Regions from separate parts of the Homo sapiens genome. Here region 2 is linked to region 1. Evidence: promoter capture Hi-C in 16 types of primary human blood cells and fetal thymus (Javierre and others, 2016). All regions are on one chromosome and are shown on one strand. Each heading gives the region's core, a stretch centred on a gene start or on the middle of the fragment in contact. The rest is flanking DNA. Distances are from core to core; before and after follow the strand shown. Region 1 holds the start of RBMXL2 (RBMX like 2). Region 2 overlaps SYT9 (synaptotagmin 9).

The links. Contacts are between HindIII fragments. The CHiCAGO score rates a contact against its expected background, and 5 or more counts as called.
Region 2: a contact is called between a fragment that was not itself captured here and the fragment with the promoter of RBMXL2 in region 1, in 1 of 17 cell types (total CD4 T cells). The highest score is 5.1, in total CD4 T cells.

What each region holds. Positions count from the first base shown.
Region 1 is chr11:7,086,290-7,093,039 of GRCh38, reverse strand. RBMXL2 (RBMX like 2) reads right to left here and starts at 4,042. Exons shown (of 1, transcript NM_014469.5): 1 at 1,892-4,042. The coding sequence starts at 3,919. The coding sequence ends at 2,741. It also overlaps a transcript of NLRP14 not described here. The HindIII fragment of the contact is 13,917 bases long and covers 1-6,750 here.
Region 2 is chr11:7,420,630-7,427,379 of GRCh38, reverse strand. SYT9 (synaptotagmin 9) reads right to left here. Exons shown (of 7, transcript NM_175733.4): 6 at 6,745-6,750. Among named protein-coding and RNA genes, the nearest start is that of SYT9-AS1, 42 kb to the left of the region's middle. RefSeq lists a silencer at 4,230-4,289. The HindIII fragment of the contact is 6,285 bases long and covers 744-6,750 here.

The DNA of each region.
Region 1 (6,750 bases), core at 2,793-5,292:
CTGGCTGATTCATATTAGCTTCTACACTGAGCTTCATCATAAATCTCAGTTGATCCACTCCAGGTAGACTACTTTTGTTGTAAACATTCAAAGGGTGCTTTACTGACCAATCTTGTGCGTATCTCCTTGTGAATATGCACAAATTTCTTTAAGTCCATTCCTTGAAATGGAATTTCTGGGTCGTAAAGTATGCATCCTCCAACTTTACTAGGCATTGCTAAAATTATCTCCAAAATGATTGTATCAATTTATACATCTATCAAAAATGTAAGTCTTTGTCCATTTTTTTCTTGTTTTTTTCTTATTATTGATTTTTAAGCATTCTTTTGGAAGTCATTTCAATGTAAATATATTCTTCCAATATTATGGCTTGAAATTTCACTTTGTTAATAGTCACTTTTATCATTAAAATACCTTAATAATAATATGGAAAATTTTATCAATATTTTCCAAGTTTGTACTTTTTGTCTTAAAACGGAATTCTCAACCCCACCGTGGTGTATACATTTCTTCACTTTCTTCTAAGTGTTTAAAAATTTCCTCTTCACATTTAAATCTTCAAACCATCTGGAATGTATTTTTGTGTATGCTGTTATGGAATCTCACTTTTAACAAATAGTCTTTTTTTTTTAGAATTTCATTTTGCCACCAATGACTTTTAAAATTACCTCTGTTGCATAATGTGACAGAAGTGGACTTGTTTCTAGGATCACAGTTTTGGTCTATTGGTCTGTCTATCCTTGTTTGCTGACATCATACAATTAAATTGCTAGAGCTTTGTAATAAGTCTTGGTATCTGTAGGATGAGTCCTTCCTAACAACTGTTCATCTGAATTGATTTGGCTTTTCTTGCTCTTTATTCCACCATGCAAATTTGAAGATTAGCTATATCTCCCATTAGTGTCTCTTTTCTAAATACTTGTTTCTTAATAATTTGTTGGTGGTGAAATGAAGCTATTGATTTTTTGTGGTTGGTTTACCAAATCTTTTATTATTCCATCATTGATCAACACAAATAAATGGTGTTATTCGGGAAGAGGGGAGGGGAGCTGTGTGAAAAAAATCATGAAGTGACTTCATTTGAAGTTGTATTGTTTTTCCAAATTAATTTGATGAGGTTGAGAATAGTTGATAATGAAGTCCTCCCAACCATGAGTATATCAATCTCTTATAGTTCTTCTTTTATGTCCTTTAATAAAGATTAATTTTTTCATAAAGATCTTACATATTTTTGTTAGATTAATTCCTGGATCATTTTTTAGCTATTTCTTGCATTTGCTCTTCTGAGCCACTAGTGTGTCCTCTCCTTTAATGCACCTACTTTATTATTGTCAAAAAAAATCATGTTGTTAAAAGTTGTGTATGTGTGTTGCATTCAGATCCCTTTAAGTACTTTTTGCTGTTGTTCCCTTATCTGTTTCCTCCAGCAATTATTACACTGAACATGGGTCATCAACCTTAACCCCATCCTTCTTTCTCTGGTTGCTACAGTCCCTTGACTGTACAATTACCTTTCTCACAGATAAATTGGGGAATCCACAGGTGCTGAATGGAAAAGATGTTTAAGAGGAAACTTACGTTCCTCTTGACAGATCTTGGAGAAAGACTCTAATCTTTTTCTGTTGAAGCCCTTCTCCCCACCTTAAAACTAGGAAACAACCCATCCAACCCCTCGCCTTTTGTGGACAGGAAAACCAGCCCCTTCATGCCAGTTTGAGATCCTCAGAGGTTGAAACGCCAAGCTCTTTCAGGGATTCTCTGACCTTTGCTCCTGAGCTCTGAAGCTGCTCACTTTTGATTCCTCCACCCCTAAGGGAAGAAGCTCAATTCTCTCCACAGGACTCAGTGGCTGGCTCTAGAGCCAAAGGCAAGTAGCTTGGAGTTAGGAATGGAAGCCATTACGGTCCCCAAGTCGACCACTGATTTATTTTCTACTTGTTTCTTAATAAATTTGTTGGTAGTGAAAATGAATGCTATCAATTGAAGGATTTGGGATTTGCTTGTTTTGTAGCTTTGTGGTTGGTTGGCCAAACCTTTGATATAGTATTCCACTGTTGTTCAAAACATAGATAGTACTTTTGGGAGTGAGGGGACAGGTGATCCTGTAGATTCCCAAAGAAAAAGCAAAAAGGCAAAACATGGCCAACATTATCCATTTACTTTTCAGATTTACTGAGTGAAAATAATTTTCTTTACATAAACATTTGATCTAAATCACTTTTGTTGTTGTTGTTGCTGGTTGTTTGCTTTTTAATACTGGAAACAAAGATTCAGTTTGAAAGATACCCTGAAATCTTAAGAGTAGCATACACCAATCCCTCCCACTCTCCACCCAAAATCTAGTTGGTTTAAATGAGCAGAATGATCCGTTTTTCCATTTTAGGTGAGCAGATGTTTATCAAAGATCTTAGAACTGTTTGCCTCATTTATCAAGAAAATTTACAAGGGAAGAAGCCATTAATCGAATTTCTACTTGTAAATGTAAGAAGACTAGTACTCAGGTTCATATACTTTTAACAGGAGCTTGTTGAAAGAAACGTTAACAATTCCAAAACTAAACTAAACGAATTTTAAGTTTTTTCTCCCAAAAGCATAAAAATGGAGACGATCTTAACAGGAAATTCTTAAAAGGTAAAAACAACTCTTCCTTGTACTAGTCCTTGGGTAGTTACCATACAACAGGTTCTTCTTTTTGTTAGTTTCGTTGAAAAGGGATTTTTGGTCCCAAGTCTGTTCCTGCTTAGTATCTGCTCCGGCCTCCTCCTCTCTCCAAGCGGCCTCCTAGACGGCCTCCGCCCCTGGGCACCCTGCAGCCTGACCGGCTGTAAGAATCACGCTGGGGAGGGCAGCCCCTTTCCATGGACAGAGAGAGCCCACGATCTGGTCTGCCCACCCGGTGTCGGCCCCTCGAGTAGCGGTCGCTCCGGCCATAACTGCTGCTGTAACTGTCGCGGCCGCCGCTGTAGGCATCGGGTGAGTAGCCCCGGTACTCCTCGTAGCGGCCTCCTCCTCCGTAAGATGGCGGTGTCCCCCGTCCTGGGGCGGCGCCGCGCAGCTCTCCGTAGCTCTCAAAGGGCTCTCGATGGGAGCCTCTGCTCAGATGATCCCCGTAGTCACGGTCGCGACCTCCGTAGCCGTCTCGGTCGCTGTAGCCTCTCAAGGGACAGTCGTCCCGGACACTGGAGTGGCCGTAATCGCGGTGGGTGTACTCTCCGGGCGAGGGGGCAAAACCCCGGGGTTCGCGGTAGTCTCGGCTCGAGTAGCCGTCTCTGGACGAGTAGCCCTCATCCCGCGGGCCCAGGTAGGGGTCGCGGCGCGGGGGCAGCGGCTCCCGGCGCGGTGGGCCTGAGTAGCCGTCTCGCCCCCGCACGGCCAGGGCCCTCCCGCGCATTCCACCGCCGCTGCTGCGAGCCGGGCCCGACGGCGCGGCCCTCTTGGGGGGTGGGCCGACCCTGCGCGGCGGCGGCCCACGCTTCATGGGCATCGGGGCCCTGGAGGGCCGCAGGTCGAAATCCGCCGTGTAGCCGCCGTCATCATCGGGCCCGCCCCGGGATGGGGAACGCCGCGGGCCGCCGCCACCCCCGCGGGTTCCGCGCAGGAACCTCGGGCGACCGCGGCTGCGGGGAGGCGGCGGGCCCCGCCGGCTGCTCTCGAACGCCGGTTTGGTGGCCTGGGCCACCTTGATGGCCTTACCATCCAGGGACTTGCCGTTCATGTCTCTGGCGGCGGCCTTGGCGTCTGCGGGGCTTTCAAAGGTGACGAACGCGAAGCCCCTCGACTTGTTGGTTTCTCGGTCTTTCATCAGGAGCACCTCGACGATGCGGCCATACTTGCCAAACTCGGCTTCGAGGGCTTTCTCGTCGGTTTCGAGGTTGAGGCCCCCAATGAACAGCTTCCCCGGGCGATCCGCTTCAACCATGTTTGCCGGTCGAACGGTCGGTCAGTGGCGGTGGGAGGCGGTGAGGCGGCGCCAGTCGCAGCCTTCGAGCTCGCTCGTCGAGGGCGGCTCCTACTGGTCAGGCGGCGCCTAGTCGCCGAGTCCACGGAACCGCAGCCGGAGCCCCGCTGCAGGGCGCGCCCCTGCTGCCTGTGATTGGTCGGCTGTTTCCAGAGGGCCAATTCGCCGTCGGGAAAGTCGGCAGTTTTGTGTCTCCTTTTCAGTCTTTAACTTCCTGTTCACCTGACCCGGTCTTAACGGCTTCAATGGCCTCCTGAAAGCTCAGGGAAAAGCCGTTAGGTGGAAAAAAATTTTTTTCTATTAGTTTTAATGAGAACAATTGTAATGATCCCAAACCTAAGCTACCCAAACCATTTTCAAACAGAAAAAAATAGTATGAATTTTTTAAATTACTAAAATTATTAAGTTAAAAATCATTTTTCAATTATTGAAAAATAGAGTAATAACAGTTAACAAGTTTAAATTTTACCTTACTGATCTTTTTAAACTAATCAGCTTTTAGCCTCGTCTATCCTCTGTTTTGATTTTATTTGGTGCTATTGTCTTTATTCTTTCTACATTTATTGGATTTATTGTTTATATTATTTTGTTCTAATTTTTTAAATAAGACACTTAGCACATTAAGAGTTTAAAAAATGTTTCTTCTAATTGTTATATTTAAGGTTAAAACTTATTCTCTATGCACTGGTTAATATCATGCCTTGAGCTGTAATATATGTTGTTTTCATTGTTGTTCAGTTCCTAAGATTTTCTCATCTTTGTTATTTCCTTTTTGGACCATGTATTAAAGAAGTATGTTTGTAAATTTTCAAACATATGTGCCTGTTGGTTATTTTTTAATATGCTCTGTACGATATCCATTGTTTTTCGTTGAGACTTGCTTTGTGACCTAATATGGTGTAATTAATGTTCCATATATACTGAGCAGAAAGTGTATTCTCTAAATGTTGGACAAAGTTCTTTCTTATTTTCTGATATTTAAATCTTCCCTTTTCTAACTTGTTTTTTATTTGATAGAATTGCCAAACACTAGAACTGTCTTAAAATTTACCATAATTGTGGATTTGTAAATTTCTCTTTGTCTTTATGTCTGGTTTTTGCTTCATGTAATTTAAGGTTATATTGTGAGATATATAAAAATTGAGAATTGCTACGTATTTCTGGTGAATACCTTTTTTATGTAATGATCCTCCTTATTCGTAAAAACCTTTTTACCTTAGTCCATTTTGTGTGATGCTTATAACTTTCGGTACTTTTGCAATTTCTTCCTAAATCTTTGCTATCAGCCAAACCTTTCCTTCTTCCTTTTTTCCATCTTTCTTGCCTTTTCTTGTAGTAAGTGATTTGTCTTTGTTTCTTTTTCCTCCACTATGGAAGAAGTTATGCCTTCTATTTCTACTTTTTCGAATGACTGCCCTTAATGTTTTTATTGAATGCTAACTTAAAAATGCTAAGTTTATAAATTTACTTATAAAATCAAGTTTACTGCTTAATTTTACGTGTGTATATCCATGTAACCATGACCCACATTAAAATCTATAACATTTCCATCACTCCAGAGGGTTCACTTGTGCCACTTACTAATCAAACCTAACTGAGATATGCTCTCCTGGCACAATAAGACCAGATAGCCACACTGAGGTTTGCAGCAGGAAAAAGGAGGGCATTTATTTGCAGGGCTCCAAGCAAGGAAGACCAGGCAGCTACTCTTAAATTCTGACCTCCATGATGGCTTACAGGTAAAGGTTTTTAAAGGAAAATGTAAATTTCAGGAAAGCAGAAGTTACAGACAAAATCATAAGTCAATACATGGAGGTTACACATTGGTATTGGCCCAAAGGAGAGATATCTCTTGAAGTGGGGGGCTTACAGGTCATAGGTAGATTCAAAGATTTTCTGATTTGCAGTTGGTGAAGGAAGAGAATTTGCAGTCAGCAGAAAAGAATGAGCTTTGGCTCCTGAGTGTGACTCCATCCAGGCCCCTCAGGAAGATATTTAGAACAAAGAATGGTTGTCAGAGTTTAGTCCCCAGTTCCCTCTTATCTGAGGTCTACCTGTCTGTGGAACTGTTTGGTGGGATCTGGGTTTCTGAAAGACAACTCAGGGACATATGTTAAGACATTATATTTAGTGTCTATAGGGGAACAAAAAATCTCCTGACTCTTAACTTCCATGGTTATTGTTTTAGGTTCCTATTACTTTCTTGCTTATCAAGTTCCTTATTCATTTAAGGAATCTGATGAAGTTCCTTAACTTCATTCCTCAGGGCTAGCTAGATGCATGGAATTTCCTTTAAAGGAACTCCAGATTTTCCTTTATTTCCATATTTGTGGGAGAGGGGTTGCAGAGGCCCCTGAAACAGGGTCTCTGCTCTGCAAAAAATGATAGGATCAAGATCAAAGTTTGGGCAAAAATTGGAGGGCTTACACAGGCTTTATGTGAAATGATTGTGTCTCTTTTACCTGAATGTATTCTGGGAATGGATATTGTGTCTGACTGGGGAATGTTTCCCTACCTAGTGCTATAAAACACAAGGCATATAAATTCTGCCTTTAAGCAATATTAATTATATTTGCTAAATAGAAATGAACAAGATTGTTGAAGCCCACACAGTATAGAATAAAACCTGAAGTGCTAGGATGCACAAATTCTGTGCATAGTGGACCTGTGTGGAGGGTAGATTAGGGCTTGTGGCAAAAGCCTGGAGGGCCTTCCAGCAACAACTACAGGTACTTTGAAGTGGAGAATTTACATCTGAGTCAATTACTAGCTCAATCTCGGACATTAATTGA
Region 2 (6,750 bases), core at 2,637-5,136, 330 kb before region 1:
AAATGCAAAGCCATTGTCATTACGTGGCAGTTTATTGGAACCAAGGGAGGAATTGGTCCCTTTTCATGTTCTTCTCCTAAATAGAGAAAAGGTAATTAAAACTTGGAGCTTAATAAGGGCCATCTCTATTTGAACAGCCTAATACAAATCCATTCTCAATACCTTTTTACACCTTGTCTGAACTGACTTCTACTGTGTACTCCACTGCATGGGAATTCTGGAACTTTAGAACGAAGGGAACTCAATTCATTCTATATATATCTCATTCATTCATTTTTTTTTCATTTGTTCACCAAATGCTAACTCAATACCTACGTAACAGAGATAATGTTCTTATTGTCTGTAAATCAGAAAATGCATGCATTGAATAAACGCCATATATTCTTGGAAGCTGAGGGCTGATAACTCAAGGTAAATGATCAGCTAGTCTCCTATGAAATAAGTATCTTATTTCATGTTACATGTAGAAATGACCATGCAACTTTATCTTAAAGCCAGGCCTTATTGAGAAAAAGGGGATCCAAATTCCAAATGTTTCCTTACATGCTGAGAGGAAACCTTGGAGGTCTGAGCGTGAGTCATAGGTAGAGGGAAATCATGCTAAGATATATATTGTTTCCACCAGACAGGTAGAGGAAGCAGAGACCCTTTGGCAGAAGAGATACAGAGAAGAGAGGAGGAGAGGTTCTGGCTTTACCGTTCAGGCTTGAAACCCCAAGTTTAGATGGATTGAGGGGGAAGCTTAAGGCAAACATGACCCCTGGGCCAACACAGGCTAGAGGAACAATGTAGAAATGACCATGTAACTTTATAGGCATGAAGAAGATGCCTGTGATGGCACTGAGTCTCCTGTGGCTCCCTTGTGTGCCCAAATGCCTGAAGGATGTGAGAGTATTGGTTGTTAGAATTTCAGGGAATTCCACCAAGTGGGGAATGACTCTGTATTAAGGGCTGCAAAGAAAAGCTCCCAGGCCAAGCATTGAGTGGGAGGTGCTACCTGCCCTCAGGGATCCACAGGGACTTCAACAGCTGATGTGGGGTCTCATCAGCCTCAAGGTGGCCAAGTTTCTATGCTGAGACTATAGCCCACAGTTACACCAGCCATGATCCTCAGCAGCAGAGGTAGTGATGATGAAGTCTGATGCCCAAAGACAAGCAGAACAATATGCACAGTTCCAGCCAATGCCACGAGGTAGCCTTTGTACTTCCCTATACCTAGCTGGGAGGGAGGAAGGAAGGAGAGAGGAGACTCCTAGGAAGAGGAGAAAATAATTATCCCAAAGAGACTGACATAACCTGGAAAAGACCGAGAACTACTAATTAGCAAGATAAAGTTCATTTACCTCTTCCTGTTTCTTACCAAGATGGTATGTATCCTTTCAGATAATAAATAAATTTATGTTTTCTTGCCCTATTTTAATGTGATTTAAATGTTTCTTGTTTTTTCTGTTTTCATTCATAACAAAAATTTTGTTCTCAGAGACACTGAGACATGAGACACGATGCTGGACTATATTGGGGGGGAGCACCTCATCATATGGGCAAGATATTGCAGCAGCATGTAGCCCTCCACGTCCTGACTGCTCACTTCTCTTTCGCCATCCCCTAACACACGTATTAGGCTTTTGCTATGTTCATTTATCTAGCCCATAAGCCACTCCTTCAGAGGGCAATGCATGGAATTGGCAGCCTTGGTTCCCCACCAACTGACAGGGGTCTGGAATTCAGGTGTTTCCAAAGACCTGCAGTCTTGGGGGCCTTAATGCTTGCTGAGTAGCAGCACTTTCTAGGACTTTCCCTATTGTACGTTTCAGTCCATGCTTTTCTTTTTGTCTTGTCTCAGTGTTCTTCCCTGCTAGTCTGGTTCTCAACAAGACCCAAGCCCTGCAACACACCCAAATCCCCTTGATGGGAACCTGATTTCCTACGTGGCTTTTCCCAGTCACCCCATGCTCTCCCCACTCCCATCTTTCCTGGTGAATTGCTCCTTTCCTAAATCTGTTGTGAATAACAATTTGGCCACAGTGCTAAAGCCTCTCACTCCTCACTTTAAATTCCTTTGGGAAACAGTCATTCATGTTCATTTTAGACAATTTCCCTGTCCTGTGCGGACTCTTCTCAAGAAGTCTACTCCCAAAACTCCTGCTGAGGTAGGTCCAGGTCACATTTTCATGACCCCAGACCTACAGCAAATTGCACCGGGATGGACACCTAATCAAATCTTGGGCAATCAGATACATTCTCCTGGGAATATGTGGATCTCCAAGACTCCAGATAGGCCCTGCTGGACACTTGACAGATAATATCTAGAGATGGTTTACACGGGCTGCTTGTGTAACTACAAGTCTGGGTAACTGACAGTTGCTGTAGTCCTTTGACTCTAAGTTTATACCCTTCTAGAGGCTGAGGGTGATAAATGAGGGCTCTGTTTATGTCTGGGCATATTGTACCATAACTGCCTTCTGGTTATACTTGGCATTATGTAATTCTGAGTTGAAGAGGGGCAGGAGGCTCAATGAGCTGGTCCCAGCAGACAGTCAGACATGCAGAACTTTTGTAGCTGTATGTACGTGTATGCACAAAGGTTGAGCTTGGAGTGAGGCAGACATCCAAAATGGGGCACGCCTTGAGTAGAACTTTGGTGTTTGGAATCCTACACCTATGCCTATAGGATAATAGTGCTGATCTTGACTATATATTCTGATCGGATTCTCTTTCTTCTTTTAGAAAAGTGAAATTTCATTTAACCAGATAGTGTCTGTGTCTCGTCTTCCCACCAAACCAAGATTAGTACTTATTCATACAACAGATGTTACATGGCACTACACAGGGAAGCGATGAAAACTTGGAACTATTTCCTATTATTCTCCATGAGGCTTATGATGTTGGTCATCTTGACATACAGGAGGCAGGAAAGGTGTTGTGATATGGCCAGGCCGAAACCATCTTCTCTTGAATTGGTGGAGGAGGGTGCCGTGCTAAGGGAGCTCTTAGAGCTCTGTCATCTGAGGCCCTATGGAGGGGGTGCTCCGATTCCTAAGCCCTAGGCAGTCTGCTTGGGGGAGTTTTCACAGCTTTCCAAACCTTTGGCATCATGGGGAGTAAAGGGAGCCCTACTGGCTGACCTTTGAGTGTGCAGTGAATTCATCCAGAATTCCTGCGAGAGAAACGGATTTTTGAACTCACTGGCTTTGAAGATTCCATCTGCCACCTGCCCTGGCAAGGTCAGGGTGTATTGGATGCAACCCTGAGCAGGCTGCCAGATCTCTGCAGGGCTCAGAGTTTAGACCTAACCAATTCCTCAGCAGTGAAGAGCTTCTGCCAGGCCAGCCTCCCTCCATGCTAAATCCCAGGGCCCCCATCTTCGTTCTCTCTCCCTCTCTCTCTGTCTTCCATACACACATGCTCATGAGTGCACACTCACATACTCTGTTATCATGAGCACTGAGATTTAATTGCTGGTTTTTGTTTTAAAGAAGACATTTAAAAGGTTCTTAGAGAGCATAACAGCAGCCTGTCTTTAAGGCCAAGGAAAAGAGGAAAGAAACAAAACTTAAATATGTGCATCTGTGTTTAGCCAAGTACTGGATGACCCCTTCCCCCCACTCTGAGATGATGGCTCACTGGGGTGCAGGAGTGGTGGATTCCCGGCCTTTCTCTTATTCTCCATGACACACATGGATGATATTTCTTCACAGGACATAGGCCCATAAGGACACACAGCAGCCCCTCAGAATGTGGGGCATACATAATAACAACTATAACTGAAAACTTTACTGAGTGTTTATTATATATCAGCTACAATGCTGCATTTCATATAAATAGATTGTTTAATCCTCACCATCCCTCTTGTGAGACAAGCACTGTTATGGCCACTTTACAGATGAGAACACTGAGGTTCAGAAGGGGAAAAACAAACATCTAGTGAGTGGCAGGACAGCAATTCGAATATAGGTCCTTCCAACTCCAAAGTGAATGTTTCTGGCCAGTCTGCCTGTTGCCTCCTCCATCCTTACAGCTGCTAACGAAGCATGGCCAACCTCTCCAATACTGTTTTTCATCTCATCTGGTACCATTGCCCCAATTCTGCCAGCTCAATGTTCATTTTTAAAAGAAAAAGCATCACTTCCTCTCTCAGGATGGATCTGGAGTCCCAGACGTGTACTTCAAAGAGACAGGAAGCAACGGGGAAGAGGCAGCCTCCCTCTGCCTCTGCTTATAGGAAGGTTTGCCCTCCCCCTGCTTATATGAAGGCTTGCCCTTCATATAAGCCCCACAGGCATTTCATTTCCTTAGTTCTGCTGTAACAGTTCAGAAATGACCATTGTATTGGCCAAAGTAATTTTAGCCGCTGTAACAAATGACTTCTAAGTTTCAGTGGTTTAACCCTAATGGCATTTACTTTTCAGTTACATAACTGTGGAGCACAGATTTCCAAAAAGCTGAGTGTTTGGGGTTTGAGGAATATCTCTCAGGTGAATGAATTTATATCACACTTTTTCTCCACAGTGAAGGAAAAGGCCTCCAAGGCCTGCTCCCTGCACTCTCCTTTGTGTAACACGTGCATATACTGCCACTCAGGGACCCGTGTGCAACACTCCACCCAGGACTACTCCCCTGCCCAGGTCACTGAAAAAAAACTGCTTGTGCATGAATCAGGGCTCACCTCTCAGCCCTACACCACACACCTCATCCTTACTCCTTTCTCATTTCTTGTTTCCTGAGAAGCACAGAGCTTTAACACTCTCTGATACTCCTAATTACCAATAAGAATTAAAGTCAGCAATGGCTCATAAGGGTGCAAAAAGTCTATTACAACTCTTCTAAATGCCACTGCTAGTGACAGGCCCCCAAAATCTAATGAGCCCACAGATGGACTCCTTTGAGAATTCCACCAGGAGCTGAAGAAGTGAGGTATAGTTCAGTGAGCACCAGTCTCCAGCTCCTTCTCAAGTGGCTCATAGATCCTGTGGGTCTCCCTTAGGGATCAATTTTGCTCCTATGGCCCACGGGCAGAACTATCCTTAAGAACCCGCAAATTAGGGGGTCCTAGGCTCTTCTTGAATACATCTGGGTGCCCTGATGGTTAGAATCCATAAACCCTGTCCTGCCTTCTCCTTCCTGCCCCACTTCCAACAAAGATGTCCCTTGGTTCCCCTGTCTGGGTTTGGGGCCTCTCTGCCTCTCTGCCTCTCCACAGCCGCCCTGTGTTCACTTCAACCAGACTCACCTGACTATCAATGGCAGGGGTGCCCACACTGGGTGAGGCTCTAGTCTTGGCCTCTCAGATGGCTTTGCATGGAAGAGAGCTTCCTGCACCAGGAGAACAGAGGAAAGCTCTCTGCCTGGAACCCACGCATCCTCAGTAAATAACTGCTGCTGCCCTCCTGGCTTTCCAGTTCCCGGGGGCTCAGTTCTCTTTACTTATTGAGAGCATGAAGGAGAGATGCTTCACAATCTCCTCTAAGCACAGTAAACATCTCTCTCCTTTGCGCTTTTGTAGCACTTTATATGGATGGAAATGCTTGTATTTGTGCCTCTCGAAGATTAGTTTACATGTCATCTTTTGTTTATTTTACAGTCTGTAAGTTCTACAAGGGAAAGGACTGTTTCTTATTCATATCTGTATTTTCTGTAGCTATTATAGCATTGGACCCTCAGACATGTTACTTAGGGAGTGCAAATTATTTTTGAGAGAACAAGTTAGTGAATAAATAAGAGAGTGAATCAATGAGCAAAGATAAGTAGGGGAAGAATGAATGAGAAGTAAAGGGGGAGGGAGTGAATGAATGAGGATGTGAGTGGCAGAATGATGGCCGGTTGACTCCAGGTTTTCACTTTCCTCTTCTCTGCAAACAGAACCCTGGTTTTTAGTTGGACACATTGACACCCAACAAAAAGGTTACATTTCCAACTATCCCCTGCAACTTGACATGTCCACGTGACTAAGTTTTGTGACTAAATTAAATGTAAATAGCAGTCTTGCATGAGAATTCAAAGAGAATCAAAAAGGGAATGTGTGCCCTTTTGGCTCTTGCCCTTTTGCACATTTTTGTGGCCTAGAAAATATGCAATGGTTGGAGCTTAGCAGCCATATTGTATAATGAGGGGACTTCAAGGAACAAAGCCACACTGGGACTGTGAGGCAGAAAGACAGAAGTCTAGGTCTCTTGTTGATCATGGAGCTGCTAAGATACTCCAGACTGCCTTCCTCTAGACTTTTTGTATATAAGAGAGAGAAATAAATTCTCATTTCATTTGTTTTTAATTTATAATTGGTTGTTTTGGTTTTTATTATATGTAGTTGAACCTGATACTAACCCACTTGCCCAGAATCACAGGTTGGTGCCAGAGCTGGTCTTAGAATCAAGGCCTTATGTTTTTTCCAAAGTCAGTCTCAAGTCACTGTACGAAGGCCTGAAAGTCCCCACTCACCCACACCTTGCAGATGCCCTCCAAGTACCAACCCAAAGCCTTAACACAGAAGCAGAGAATCTTGATCTTTTAAAAATACAATCAAAATGAGGGATGATCTCTGATCAATACTCAAAACCTACCAGACTGGTGGGAAGCACAGATTCAGCCTCAAATTGAATGCAAGTCCCAACAGCCCCAGGAAATGCAACCAGGAAAACCCGTCTATGACCATAGATCCTGGTGCACTCATATGTTTGGCAGCTCCTGCATTTCAACAGTAAAGCATTTACTCTTATGCAAAGTGGAGCATGTGGATTAGGGTCTTACCTCCAC